Linked DNA regions of Homo sapiens: all the other regions are linked to region 1. The links are contacts of gene promoters, found by promoter capture Hi-C in blood cells and fetal thymus (Javierre and others, 2016). All regions are on one chromosome and are shown on one strand. The core of a region is centred on a gene start or on the middle of the fragment in contact, and the rest is flanking DNA. Distances in the headings are between cores, read along the strand shown.

Region 1 (3,583 bases), core at 695-3,194:
CTCTATCTCTTTATGTTAGACATGGTGAAATTCAAGCCTAGAGAGGGCAAGGAAATGGCTCAAGGTCACACAAACCAATGGGGGCCAAGGTCAGATCAGAGCCCAGGCCTCCTTAATCCCAGGCCAGGGTCTTTCCACCTCATCCTGTGCACTCAGGCAGTCTAAAGCAATCTTTCTTCTAGGGTATAAACTTAGGAAATGCATTACTTTAACATGTGATAAAACACATGTGAAAACACAAAGAGGCTAAGCAAAGTTTCCACAACAAGTCAACCAGCAATTATAAAATCTTTGGAGGACAACTGCCAACTGGCACTAAAGGTTCTTTTACACACCATATCTTTTTTGTTGTTTTGTGGAACCTGTAACCCTTTGAGAGGCTGAAGAAATCTAGGGGTCCTCGCCTAGAAATACACACATTTGCACTTACAAATTTGTACGCAATTTCAGTGCACGTATGACCCCCTGAGCTCCATGCCCAATTAAGAATATCTCTTGAGGCAGATTCTTCTAAACAAACAGACTGCCTGCTTCAACAAATATACTCCATCTCTTAGGGTGGCGAGGCTATCACTCTGATTTTCCTCAGCAAAACACCATTGTCCCAACATCATTTATTAGAATATTGCAGTCCTCTAGGTTGGAAGATACTAGAGAAATTAGTCCAACTGCACCCCCCATGAGATATAGGATAAGGTCATGGGTAAATAAGGGGAGACTAGAGTCAGCCTGCCTAGGTTAGAATTCCAATTCCATCACTCACTAGCTGTGTGACCTTGGGCAAGTTACTTAAGCTCTTTGAGTCTGTATCCCCATCTGTAAAATGGGGATAATAATTGCAGCTATTTCATAGAGTAGTTATGAGGATTGAATTGGATAATTCGTATAAAACATAGCACCAGGCCTGGCACATAGTGAGTGTTCAGTAAATGCTAGCTGGCATTATTGTGATGATGATGTATGCATCCATGCAAGCATTATGCATGCCTCCATCCAATCCCCTCCGAGAGCTTTTACTTGCACATGCCAGTGATGAGCAGCTCGCCGCCTCCTAAGCTGGTTGAGCAGCTCCAATTGTTACAAACTTCTTCCTATATCGAGCCCAAATTTGTCTTCTTGCAACCCCCACTCCCGCTGGCCCTAGTTCTGCCCTGTGGGGCCAAGCTAGAACAAGTCTATCCTACCTCCACCTGACAGCCCTTCAGCTACGAAGACAGTGATCGAGTCCTTCCTCCGCCCTCCCCCTCCCCCTTCTCCAGCTTGAACATCCTCGGTTTCTTCTCCCAACCCACAACAGACTGGCTGCGCTTACTATTTACTCCGAGGCGTTGTACGGTTTCCCTCGCACATAGTCATGCAGGCCACACACCCCACTGCCAACACAACAAACCCGACCCTCGTGCTCGGCCCCCGCCCGCTGCCCCTGTCCGCGGTGCTGAAGCAGCTCCCGGCCTCGGCGGCCCTCGGCGAGGCCCTCCCCAGCCCCCGCCCTGGGCCGCGCCAGCCCGGACCCAAGGCGCGGACCCCCGGCGCGCCGCCTCCGCGACCTCGGCAGTAGGTGCGGCCCGGCCCAGGCCCGTCCCCGGTGCCGCCCCCCGCCCTGCCCGGATGCCCCGAGCCCGCGCCCCGGCCCCGCGCGCCAGCCCCACCTGCCCGGCGAAGGGCGCCTCCGCCTCGTCCGCCCGCGCCACCGCCACCGCCACCGCTGCCCGGTTCCCTGCCCCCGCCGCCGCCGCCGCCGCCCGCGCGGCGCCCGGGAGGCAGCAGAGCGCGGGCAGCAGCAGCAGCAGCAGCCGCCCAGGGACCCGCCAGCGGCTCCAGCGCGGGGCCTGGCCCGGCGGCGGCGGCGGCGGCGGCGGCCCCGGCGCGGCGCGGCCGCCCCGGCTCCTCGGCATCCCGGCGGCGGGGCCCGCGCCCGGCCCGCCTGCCTTCGCCGCCGCCGCCGCCGCCTCGGCCGCCAGCGCGCCCCCGCCTCCGCGCGCCCCGCCCCGGTGGGGGGCGGCCGGGGGCGCGGGGGCAGCACCCGGGCGGGACCTGCGAGGGCAGTGGCTCCCCGACCAGCCCTGGGGCAGGGGCCGCGGAGCGGCGCTGGGGAGGGGGTTGCAGAGGCTAAAAGAACAGTTCTAGAGGCAGGGTCCGAAGGGGTGGAACTGGAGGTCGGGGTCTGGGGGTAGCCCTGAGCAGGAGGGGGAAGAGGCTAAATCAGTAATCCTGGAGGTAGAACAACTGGATGGCCCTGGGGGAACATATCCGGGGTTGGGGGTCCGGAACCCTGGGGAGAGGGTCCTAGGGAGTGGCATTGGAGGAGAGGGGGCCTGAGAGGCAGCCTGGGGGAGGAGACTGAGGAGCGGCTCTGGGGTAAAGGCGGGGTTCGAGAGCAAGCTAAAGAAATAGCCCTGGGTCTGAGAGGGTGACTCCGGAGAGGGAGCTCTGAGTGGCTCTCCTGGGCCGGGGTGGTGGGGGAAAGGGGTAGAGAAGACCTGAGGAGCGTTTAAGAGGGGGCATTCCTGTGAGACATTAGGTGAAGTTGAGGTGAAGCTCAGTCCCTCACCCCTAGAGGGAAAGAGCTCATCCAGCTGGGAAGATCATCTTTCATCCAAAACAACCCATATTTATCAAGCGCTTTCTATTTGTAGGGCTCTGGGCTACTTGGGATGCTGAAAGGAAAAAAAAAAACACCCAAAAACAAAAACAAAAAAGAGAAGGCCGATTTCCTGGAGTGCAGAGGTTTACAGCTTGATGAGAAAACATAAACGCAAAGAAAAACAGAATGGCAAACACCACGTGTCAACAAGGATACAGGCGGCTGCTCCAGGGGTCGAGGGAGACCTGATGAGGGGCTGGGGAAGTTAGGAAAAAGTGTAATGGAGGAGGGTGGGACTCTAGCTAGGACCTGAAGGAAAGGCTGGATTTAAACCAGGGGAGGGGAGAGGAGAGGGCATTTCAGGGAGGAAGTTGAGGGTGTACAGGATGTGCCTGAGGCGGCAGATAAGTTTCTCTGGAGCACAGGGTTCCTATAGGAAAGTGTTGGGAAGTGAGGGAAGTTGTACAAGACAGTGAATGCTAGGATAATAAATTTGGGTTGTGTTCTGAAGGAAAATGGGGGAGGGTGGTCATTAAAGGTTGTGTGTGTGTGGTGTGTGTGTGTGTATGTGTGTGTTTAAGCAGGATGATGTGTGAAAATAGTATTTTATGATTACGTGGTAATTTGGAGATGAAAAAAGGGCACAGGCTTTAGCGTCAGACCTATGTTCATATCTTGGCTCTGTTCCATTTTTATAAAATGATGCTACTATTACTGTATAAGATTGCTTTCAGCATGAGGTGCTTGACACTTAATAGATATTCCATGTTAGTTCCCCTCCCAGTGGAGAGAATAATGACCAGAGGAGGCAGAGAGATTGGTTAGGAGACTAGTGTAATAGTCTAAGTATAAGGAAATAAGGATAACAATAATAATTAACATTTATTGAGTGCCTAATACATACTAGTTACTGGGCTAAGCACTTTCCTCCACGATATCTCATTTAATCTTCATAGATAAACCCTATGAAATAGATGCTATTATTACCCCTAATTTAGG
Region 2 (3,597 bases), core at 83-2,582, 350 kb after region 1:
GTATATAGTAGATTTTTCAAGCACTTCAGGCCATCCCTGAGACTGGTCTGGGGTTGGGAAGAGAAAGGATGTGTGTATAGAGGCTTCACCAGCCCCCCTCTCTTCCTGTGGACTTCACAATGAAAGTTTGGAACAGAGACCTCGTAAAAGAAGGAACCTCCCTCATCCTTGGATATGGAGAAGTAGTACAAGCTGTAGTGTGGTTGGAATTTTGGAGTGGAGAGAGGATGGATGAGTTTGGAGGGAATGAATCTACCAGATTAAGGCAATGATGATGATGATGATGATGCCATTTATTGAGTAGGTGCCAAGCCCTATACTAATCGCTTTCCATTCTGTTACTTAATCCTCATGACAACCCTCTAAAATGGGTACTATTATTCTTTCCATTTCACAGATGGGGAAACTGATAGAGAGACTAATTGTCTTGCCCAAGATTACACAGTGTTTGAGCGGTGGCAGAATAGAACCCAGACATCCAGAATATGGAGACCTATTCCCCACCTTGCCCCACTCCTGCCCTACCATCACTACCACCACTCCTTCTTTCTCAAAGTGTCCTTTCCAGAACCACATCAAAAACTCTTAAAATGATGGTAAATATTCAGGTTCCAAGGACCTCATCCCAGCCTACTGAATCATGATCTCTGGAGTGGAATCTGGGGATCCGCTTTCAAAGATCCTAACACACACTAAAGTTTGAGAATGCGGTTGAAAGAGGAGTCAGAAGTGTCGGGGTGCGGGAAGGGATCTGAGGTCAGAGGAGGGATCTGTTGTCCAAAGAGGCGTCTGCAGTCAAAGAGGCCTGGAGATGAAGCATGGGCTGGGGTTTTCAAAAGGGTTTGGGGGTGAAGACAGAGTCTGAAGTCGAAAAAGAGGTCTAAGGTCGGAGGAGGAGTCTAAAATCGGAGGAGGAGGATCTCGGAATTCAAGGAGGGGTCTGGGGTCCGAGGAGTTTGGGGTCAGAGACAGGATCTGGGGTCGAGAGGGATTTGCGGTCAGTGAAAGGGTCTGGGGCCCGAAAAGGAAGCCTGGGATTTGAGGAGGACACTAGCTGTATTCAGGCTGGAAGGAGGAAGGGGTTTGGTCCCTGAGCTGCGTAAAGTGCAGAGCCACTGAAGTCTCGCTTGCCCCGCGCTCTCCCCTCGACCCTGCGCTGCCTTCCTGGCTGTCCATCTACACGCACCTGTGTGCCAGCTGCAGGCTGATAGCGCTGAGCAGACGGGGGCGAGTCAGACCGGGACACGGCCGAGGGCTGGGAGAGGCGCCCCCTCCCGGCTGTCGCGAAGATCAGGCCCCGCCCTCCGCCCTCCCACTCCCCCGCCGCAGCCACTTCCGGCAGGCGCTGCGCTGCTGGGGGGCGCGGGCGAGGATGGCGGCGGAGAACGAGGCCAGCCAGGAGAGCGCCCTGGGCGCCTACTCGCCAGTGGACTACATGAGCATCACCAGCTTCCCGCGGCTGCCCGAGGACGAGCCGGCGCCCGCGGCCCCGCTGAGGGGCCGCAAGGACGAGGACGCCTTTCTGGGAGACCCCGACACCGGTGAGGCCCGCTGACCCCGTCCCTGCCCTGCCTTGGGAAGTCCCCGGTCTTCCTTCTTCTGTGTCAAGCATCCACCTCCAGCTCCATCTCCTTAATTCATCCCCATCTTCTTGGATCTCTCCCTTCTTCTCCCTTGTCTCTGTTAATTATTTGGTGAGGAAGGGGGTGCATTTCTGCCTTGGAGGCGTAGGATGCGACAACGGAGAGGATGCTAGGGACTGCAGTAGAAGGGATTGGGCTTACCTTCTGGGAAGAACCAACTAACGATGAAGGAATGTTGAAGGGGAGATCCTAAGGAACCGCTGTGATCACCCAGAAGAGGGCTTTCTCTAGCCACAGAGGACAGGATAGGAGAAACCAAGTCAGAGACTGCAGCAAGAGGGATCCAATCTGTGCCTTAAGAGAAGTTCCCCACAGCCAGGGATTGTGAGAAGCAGAGGGTCTGGGAGAAGCGGAGAATCTCTTCATGTCTAGGGAGGGGTAAAGAGAATATGATTCCCCTCTGTTGGGTGTTGGGAGACGGAGGCATGGACTGCATGACCTCTCAAAAGTCCTTGGGGACTAGAACGCCTTCACTCTCCTGTGGATTACCCCACCCCTCCCTGAGCCATGGATCTGGCCGGGGTATTAGTAAGGTACTCTGCTCCCTAGGAAGCAGTCTCCAGAATTTTACTGTGTTCCCCTCAGCCCTCTGCTGGAATTGTGAGAAGTGGGGGTAAGAGAAGGAGGAGACAGGGATTGGAAGAGACCTGGGGGCAAAGAGCTCTCTGTGCATTCCTTCCCTGCTGCTCTTCCTCCTAGCCATGTGGCCCAGCTTCATCCTCCCCTCCATTCTTCATCCTTCATCCCCCATCCCTCTGTCCCTGCACGTCACTTCCTGGCATTAGAGCATCCTTCTACCTCACTCTCGCTTCCTCGCAGTGCCTGCACTTGAGCCTTGTCTCTTACCAGCCTGGCAGATGCTGCTTTTCCGGCTTGGCCCTTCCCTAGCTGCTCCCAGCCTGAAAGCCCCAAATTCTCTCCTCCTCTACACTTTCTGGTCATCTGGCCCTGACCAGCAGCCCTTGCCAACCTGACTGGACTGCACTCTGTATGGGGTGGGGGTGAGGAGATAATGAAGATGGAGTTTAGAGGTTTATGGGCGTCAAATGTCAGGGCTGCGGATCAAAACTTATTTTCCAAAGGGAGTGGAATCAGGAGGTAGCAGGGAGAGGAGTGGGAAGATGTGTCATGATGGATATCAGCCTGAAGCTAGGCCTTTTATTCAGTAGTCAGGAGTGAGACTTCTGGTCCTAATACAGCCCTGACTCACCAAGCGACAACAGGCACACCTACCCTGTCCTGGGCCTTAGTTTCCTCTTCCAGCTCAACAGAGAATGCCTGTCTCTCTTGACCTAGAGATTGGAACTGCCTGACATGTTTTCTTCTGGCCCTCTGTAAATGTCTTAGCATTTACCAAAATCTATGATTATTTATTTGTGCAATTATCTGATTACTCCCTGTCTGTAAGCCCCATGAGGGCAGGGATCATGATTGTTTTGTTCACTCTCCTTTCTCCAGCATCAAGACCTTATCCATAGGCCGGGCGCGGTGGCTCATGCCTGAGGTGGGTGGATCACTTGAGGTCAGGAGTTCAAGACCTGCCTGGCCAACATGGTGAAACCCCATCTCTACTAAAAATACAAAAATTAGCTGGGCATGGTGGTGGGTGCCTGTAATCCTAGCTACTCGGGAGGCTGAGGCAGGAGAATCACTCGAACTGGGGAGGCAGAGGTTACAGTGAGCCGAGATCACTCCACTGCACTCCAGCCTGGGTGACAGAGTGAGACTCAGTCTCAAAAAGAAACAAAAAACAAAAAACAAAACAAAATACACTGGCCGGTGTGGTGGCTCACACCTGTAATCCCAGCACTTTGGGATGCTGAGGCGGGTGGATCACCTGAGGTCAGGAGTTCAAAAACAGCCTGGCCAACATGACAAAACCCCATCTCTACTAAAAATACAAAAAAAAAAAATTAGCCAGGCCTGGTGGCAGGTGTCTGTAACCCCAGCTACT
Region 3 (3,171 bases), core at 458-2,957, 400 kb after region 1:
GGTGAGGCAACTGAAGCACAAAGAAGTTAAGTTACATTTCAAGTGAGGATATTACAAACATAGCTTCCTTGGGGAGCTTACAGTCTACTGGGGATATAGAATGAAACAAAACCCATGTAAAGATTTTTAAACAATATAAATGAGAAAATACTTTGGACCCTGTTGGACAAGTCATTTATCTCCTTTTGGTTGCAGTTTCTTCACATAGCTAATAAATGGCAGAGCTAGAATCTGAACTTGGGTGTTCAGATTCACTTTGGCTTCAGAGCCCAATATTGTAATCATTATGCTATACTATCTGCTAGTTTATGGCCTGTTTTTGTTCTTTTGCTGCCTGCCTGCAGGCAACAAGTATTTGTGTTGCCTAGGCTCCTGCTATTTTTACCTACAGGATCTGCAGGTGCCCAATGCGCCCCTGTCTTCTCAGCTCTTTGCATTCTTGCAGATCCCAGGAACACCCATGACCCTTGGCTTAAGGACATGGACAACAAGGTGAAAAAATTAGGATAGTGGCTCTGGAATCTTTTGTGCGTGTGTATGGTAAAATACATATATAACATAAAATTTGCCATTTTAACCATTTTTAAGCATATAATTCGGTGGCATTAAGTATATTCACATGCAACCATCACCACCATCTACCTCCAGAACTTTGTTTTCCCCAACTGAAACTTTGTATTCATTAAACACAAACTTCCCATTCCCTCTCCCTCTAGCCCTTGGCAACCACTCTACTTTCTGTCTTTATGAATTTGACTACTTTAGGAACCTCATATAGGAGGAATCATACAATATTTGTCTTTTTGTGACCGACTTATTTCACTTAGCATAATATCTTCAAGGTTCATCTGTGGTGTACGTCGGGTCAGAATTTCCTTCCTTCATGAAGGCTGAGCGATGCTTCATTGCATGTATAGACCACATTTTGCTTATCTATTCAACTGTCTATAGATATGTAGGTTGCTTCCACATGTTGGCTATTGTGAACAATGCTGCTGTGAACAGGGGTGCACAAATATCTCTTTGAAACTCTGCTTTCACTTCTTTATTTTTTAAATTTTATTTCGAAACAGGGTTTTGCTCCATCACCCAGGCTGGAATGCAGGAATGGAAACATGGCTCACTGCAGCCTCAACCTCCTGGGCTCAACTGATCCTCTCGCCTTAGCCTCCTGGGTAGCTGGGACCACAGGTATGTGCTGCCACACCTGGCTTGTTCATTTATTTATTTTTAAACTTTGAGACAGGGTCTCATCTGTCACCCAGGCTGGAGTACAGTGGTACTAATGTGATTTCACTTATTTTGGATGAATACCCAGAAGTGGAATTACTGGCTCATAGGGTAATCCTATGTTTAACATTTTTTTCCTTGAGACTGGGTCTTGCTATGTTGCCCAGGGTGGACTCAAACTCCTGGGTTCAAGTGATCCTCCTGCCCTAGCCTCCCAAGTAGCTGGGATTACAGGGGCGCCTATGTTTAACTTTTTGAGGAAATGCCAAACTGTTTTCCACCATGGCTGCATCAATTTATATTCCTGGCTGGGCGCAGTGGCTCACGCCTGTAATCCCAGCATTTTGGGAGGCCAAGGCAGGTGGAACACTTGAGCCCAGGAGTTTGAGACTAGCCTGGGCAACAGGGTGAAACCCTGTCTCTACAGAAAATGCAAAGATTGGCCGGGCATGGTGGCGCATGCCTGTAATCCCAGCTACTCTGGAGGCTGGGGCATGAGAATTGCTTGAACCCGGGAGGCGGAGGTTGCAGTGAGCCGAGATTGCACCACTGCACTCCAGCCTGGGTGACAGAGCGAGATCGTCTCAAAGAAAAACAAAAAACAAAAACAAAATACATTCCCACCAGCAATGCATAAAAGTGCTAATTTCTCCGCATCTTTGCCAAAACTTGTTATTTTCTGCCTTTTAAAAAAATAACAGCAGCTGGGCGCCGTGGCTCACGCCTGTAATCCTAACACATTGGGAGGCCAAGGCAGGGGGAATGACTGAGCTCAGGAGTTTGAGACCAGCCTGGACAACATGGCAAAACCCCACCTCTACTAAAAATACAAAAAATTAGCTGGCCATGGTGGTGCGCGCCTGTAATTCCGGCTACTTCAGAGGCTGAGGTACAAGAATTGCTTGAACCTGGGAGGCAGAGGTTGCAGTGAGCTGAGATCGCACCACTGCACTCCAGTCTGGGCGACAGAGTGAGATTCTGTCTCAATAAATAAATACATACATACATAAATAGGGTATGAATTGGTATCTCATTGTGGTTTTGATTTGCATTTCCTTAATGACTACAGAGATTGAACATCTTTTCATGTGCTTATTAGCCATTTGTATATCTTCTTTGAAGAAATGTCTATTCAAGTCCTTTGCCTTTTTTTTTTGAGACAGGGTCTCACTCTGTCACCCAGTCTGGAGAGCAGTGATGTGATCTTGGCTTACTGTAGCCTCCAATTCCCAGGCTGAAGTGATCCTTCCACCTCAGTCTCATGAGTAGTTGGGATTACGGGCACACACGACCATGACCAGCTAATTTTTAAATTTTTTGTAGAGATGAAGTCTTACTGTGTTGCCCAGGCTGGTCTCAAACTCCTGGACTCAAGCAATCCTCCTGCCTTGGCCTCCCAAAGTGCTGGAATTACAGGCATGAGCCATAGCACCCAGTCTTATTGCTGAGTTTCTGGAATCTTTGAGAGCTTTCTTATCTCTAGAAGTCTTTGTGGGTTTGGAAATATGTCAGTGAGGTCTTCTCAGCCTCTGGGCTGGCTGTTGTCAGGACCTCTGTGTCTGTAGGATGAAGTAGCCAGAGCTTTTCATTCAGTCTTTCAGGTTAATTAATCAAGTCATTCATTAATTGTATCTTTATCCAAAAAATCACCCTTTGGCTATGTCAGATTTCCAGGCTAACACAAGAGTACAAACTGTATGGTTCTGTTTCTATGGAGATCAAAAACTGTCAAAGTTAATCTACGGCTGGGCGTGGTGGCTCATGCCTGTAATCCCAGCACTTTGGGAAGCCAAGGCGGGCAGATCACAAGGTCAGGAGATCGAGACCACGGTGAAACCCCGTCTCTACTAAAAATACAAAAAATTAGCCTGGCGTGGTGGTGGGTGCCTGTAGTCCCAGCTACTCAGGAGGTTGAGGCAGGAGAATGGCGTGAACCCGGGA
Region 4 (3,197 bases), core at 311-2,810, 380 kb after region 1:
TTGTCCCATTCTGTCACTGTCTTACTGTGTGACCTTGTGAAGATCTTGCCCTCTCTGGGCAATTTCTTCACCTGTACAATGAGGGTTTTGGCTCCTATTTGATGTTTTGGGCATTTTCCAGCACTAGCGGTCTGTGACTATGTGAGCTTGAGCTGATGGGGCTCAGCCCTATGGTTGGGCACCAAAGAGGGACCCAAGGAGGAAGGATTTAATAATTTTTATCTAGTTAAAAATCAGCACTCTTACACCCCGCCATCTGGGGCCCCAGCAGGGCAAAGACACATAGAGATGATCAGGGTGGGGTTATCCTGTTCTTCCCCATTGCCATCTTTCTTGGCTTGGTCCTTTCTCCTGTGACCCGTAGCAGCCTCATAGCTCAGTGGATGTACTTATCACTCCCCCATCCACCCCACCCATCCAGGCACCCTACCCATTTCACAGATAGCAAACTGTTGTCTGGGAAGGGACCAGTCTCCCAGGAAAACTGGGCCTGTGGAAGATGTAGAAGAGGGAGAGCAGTTGGAAGGGTTGTGGAGGGGCCCTTTCCCGGTCTTGTCCCACCCCACCTGCCCCTTGTGGTCTCTGTCCTCTAACAACAGGAGAATTCAGTGCAGCCAGGGAAGCGGCCACTCTCTTTCCTGCTGCCCACAGTGGTCCGACCCGCGGAGGGGCTCTGTGGAACCTACCTCGCTCTGGGGGCCAATGGAGCTGCGCGGGGCCTCAGCGGCCTGACACAGGTGAGGTTTACGCCATGGTTGGCCTTTTTCAGCCGGGAGCCAAGCTGTGGCCTAGACTGCAGATGCCTGTCATATCTGTGGCTTGTTTCCATTCCTCATGCGGCAAACATGGGCTGAGGCTGTTTTGTGCCAGGCGCATCCTGGGCAATGTGGACATGGGCTGCGCTGAGTTTCTTAGTGAAAATGGAGCCCTGATGCTCCCTGTCTTTCCCGGTTGCAGGGGAAATGGCAGGGTCAGTAGATTGAAAAGTGGGGTTAGCATCTGGGTGGCCTGGGTTCTGTTAACCTCAAGTCCCATTATACCTCTACCCAGCATCTGAATAGACAACCAGCCCTCTTTAGGGTGGGATTTGAAAGGAAGGGCCTGCTTTTCTCCAGAACACCTCAGAATGGCTCCATGAATGTCTTGAGAACCTGATATATATGCCAGGCACCTATTTTGGCAGGTGGTGAGTTAACGATCTTAAGTTCTGGAATCAGACACTCCTGGGTTCCGGCCCAAGTGCTACCAATTTGTAACTGTGTGATGCTGGAGCATTCACTTAACAGCTCTGAACCTCAGTCTCTTCATCTTTAAAATGGAAATAATAACAATAGCTAACATTTAAAGAGTTCGTACTAAGTGCTGGGCACTGTGTTATGTGTGTTAACCATTTTAACCTTCCCAGTTCTGGAGAGAATCCTTATTTCTATTTTATAGATAAGGAAACCGAAGCCCAGAGAGGTTAAGACTTTAGGTCAAGTACCTTCAGCTAGAAAGAGCAGGGAGGCAGTTTGGTTCCAGAGCCTACGCACACTCCTAACCACTAAGTTAAAAGCACCCACATTGTGCCCTAGACCACTCCTAGCTATTAACCTTGCCCTATCCAGAGAGAAAAGAAGGGAGCCCCGGGCTAGATTAAAGAGACTTGGTTCTAGTGGTGTATCTTCCCTGGCTTCCTCTAAACTCTGGAGTAAGTCATTTTCCTTGCTGGACTTCACTTTCCCTCTCTGTGAAATGGAAACAGTCATCACAGGCCTGCCTGTCTTCCAGGGCTGTTAGGAGGCTCAGATGACACCCGGTGTAAGAATTCTCAAGACTAAGGAGCCTGGACCAAGGGTGAGAGCTGAGGAATCCTGGACCATCACCCCTGGGACAGCCCTGATTTTTCTGTACCTTGGCTACCACAGGTTCTGCTGAATGTCCTGACCTTGAACCGGAACCTGAGTGACAGCCTGGCCCGCGGCCGCCTACACCCGGACCTGCAGTCCAACCTCCTGCAGGTGGACAGTGAGTGCAGAGCAGAGACCTCGTGGGGCGGGCACAGGGACAGGTAGAGAAAGGACTCCTCCCAAGGGTGCCCATGCCTCAACCAGCACCAACTGCCAGTGAAGTTTGGTTTTATTTGGCAAATTTCTATTGGAGCAGTGAACGATCTGGGGATTGGAACCAGTCTTGCCATTTCCTGGTTGTGTGGCCTTGGGAAATCCATGTCTCAACTCTGAGCCTCAGTTTTCTCATTTGTAAAATAAGACACAGTTGTTCATTCTTCAAACTTTCATTTACTCAACAGTTTGTATTGAACACGTACGTGTTCCAGGCATCATCCTAGGTGCTGGGGATTCTGCATTTACAGGCAAACAAGAAAATAAGTCATCAAAGAAATATGAGACAAATAAATGCTCTGCCAACTGTCAAAGCAGGGTGATATAATAGGACGGACTCAATGATCAAGGAAGACTTCTCTTTGGTGGCATTTAAGCTGAGATCTAAAGAGTGAGAAAGAAACTGGGTGCAATGGCTCAGACCTATAATCCCAGGCTGAGGTGAGAGGATCGCTTGAGGCCAAGAGTTCAAGAGCAGCCTCAGTAACATAGTGAGACCCCCCTCCACCCCCCCGTCTCTATAAAAAAATTTTTTTAAATTAGCCAGGCATGGCACGTGCCTGTGGTTCTAGCTACTCGGGAGGCTGAGGCAGGAGAATTGCTTGAACCAGGGAGGCAGAGGTTACAGTGAGCCAAGATCACGCCACTGCCCTACAGCCTGGGTAACAGAGTGAGATCCTATCTCCTAAAAAAAAAAAAAAAAAGTAAGAGAGAGCCCACTATACAAAGAATTGGTGCAGAGCTTTGTAGGTCAGGGGAGCAAGTACAAAGAACTCAGGGCAGGAGTGGGTTTGGTGAGTTTGAGGACTAAAAAGGAGACCAAGGTAAGCAAGGATGAAATTAGATCAGAGAGGCAGGCAGGCGCCGGATCGTGGACCTTAGGGTGAGGAGACGGACTTTCCTCTAAGAAAAGGGCTTAATTTTGGCACAGCTGAATTTTATAAACAGGAAAGTATCTGCACCTTTGAGGAGTTTTTATTATAACAGACAATGTATTAATATGACACGAGTCCAAAAGAATACAGAATTGATTGAGACACAGTCCTTGCCTGTTCAATATTATTATCCCCATTCTATAGAGGAAGAAACTGAGGC

Evidence for each region. Contacts are between HindIII fragments. The CHiCAGO score rates a contact against its expected background, and 5 or more counts as called.
Region 2: a contact is called between the fragment with the promoter of GGT7 here and the fragment with the promoter of MMP24 in region 1, in 3 of 17 cell types (endothelial precursors, erythroblasts and M2 macrophages). The highest score is 8.1, in endothelial precursors.
Region 3: a fragment that was not itself captured here is called in contact with the fragment with the promoter of MMP24 in region 1 in 6 of 17 cell types (endothelial precursors, M0 macrophages, M1 macrophages and 3 more); the score reaches 10.2 in endothelial precursors.
Region 4: a contact is called between a fragment that was not itself captured here and the fragment with the promoter of MMP24 in region 1, in 6 of 17 cell types (M1 macrophages, endothelial precursors, M2 macrophages and 3 more). The highest score is 9.2, in M1 macrophages.

Annotation. Positions count from the first base shown.
Region 1 is chr20:35,225,051-35,228,633 of GRCh38, reverse strand. It overlaps MMP24 (matrix metallopeptidase 24), which reads right to left and starts at 1,944. Exons shown (of 9, transcript NM_006690.4): 1 at 1,650-1,944. The coding sequence starts at 1,895. The region is part of intron 3 of MMP24-AS1-EDEM2 (MMP24-AS1-EDEM2 readthrough); the gene reads left to right. The HindIII fragment of the contact is 9,584 bases long and covers 1-3,583 here.
Region 2 is chr20:34,870,591-34,874,187 of GRCh38, reverse strand. It overlaps GGT7 (gamma-glutamyltransferase 7), which reads left to right and starts at 1,332. Exons shown (of 15, transcript NM_178026.3): 1 at 1,332-1,541. The coding sequence starts at 1,373. RefSeq lists a silencer at 1,161-1,450. The HindIII fragment of the contact is 15,552 bases long and covers 1-3,597 here.
Region 3 is chr20:34,829,867-34,833,037 of GRCh38, reverse strand. No RefSeq gene overlaps it. Among named protein-coding and RNA genes, the nearest start is that of NCOA6, 5.8 kb to the right of the region's middle. The HindIII fragment of the contact is 3,581 bases long and covers 1-3,171 here.
Region 4 is chr20:34,848,771-34,851,967 of GRCh38, reverse strand. GGT7 (gamma-glutamyltransferase 7) reads left to right here. Exons shown (of 15, transcript NM_178026.3): 13 at 600-737; 14 at 1,908-2,007. Among named protein-coding and RNA genes, the nearest start is that of GGT7, 22 kb to the left of the region's middle. The HindIII fragment of the contact is 6,567 bases long and covers 1-3,197 here.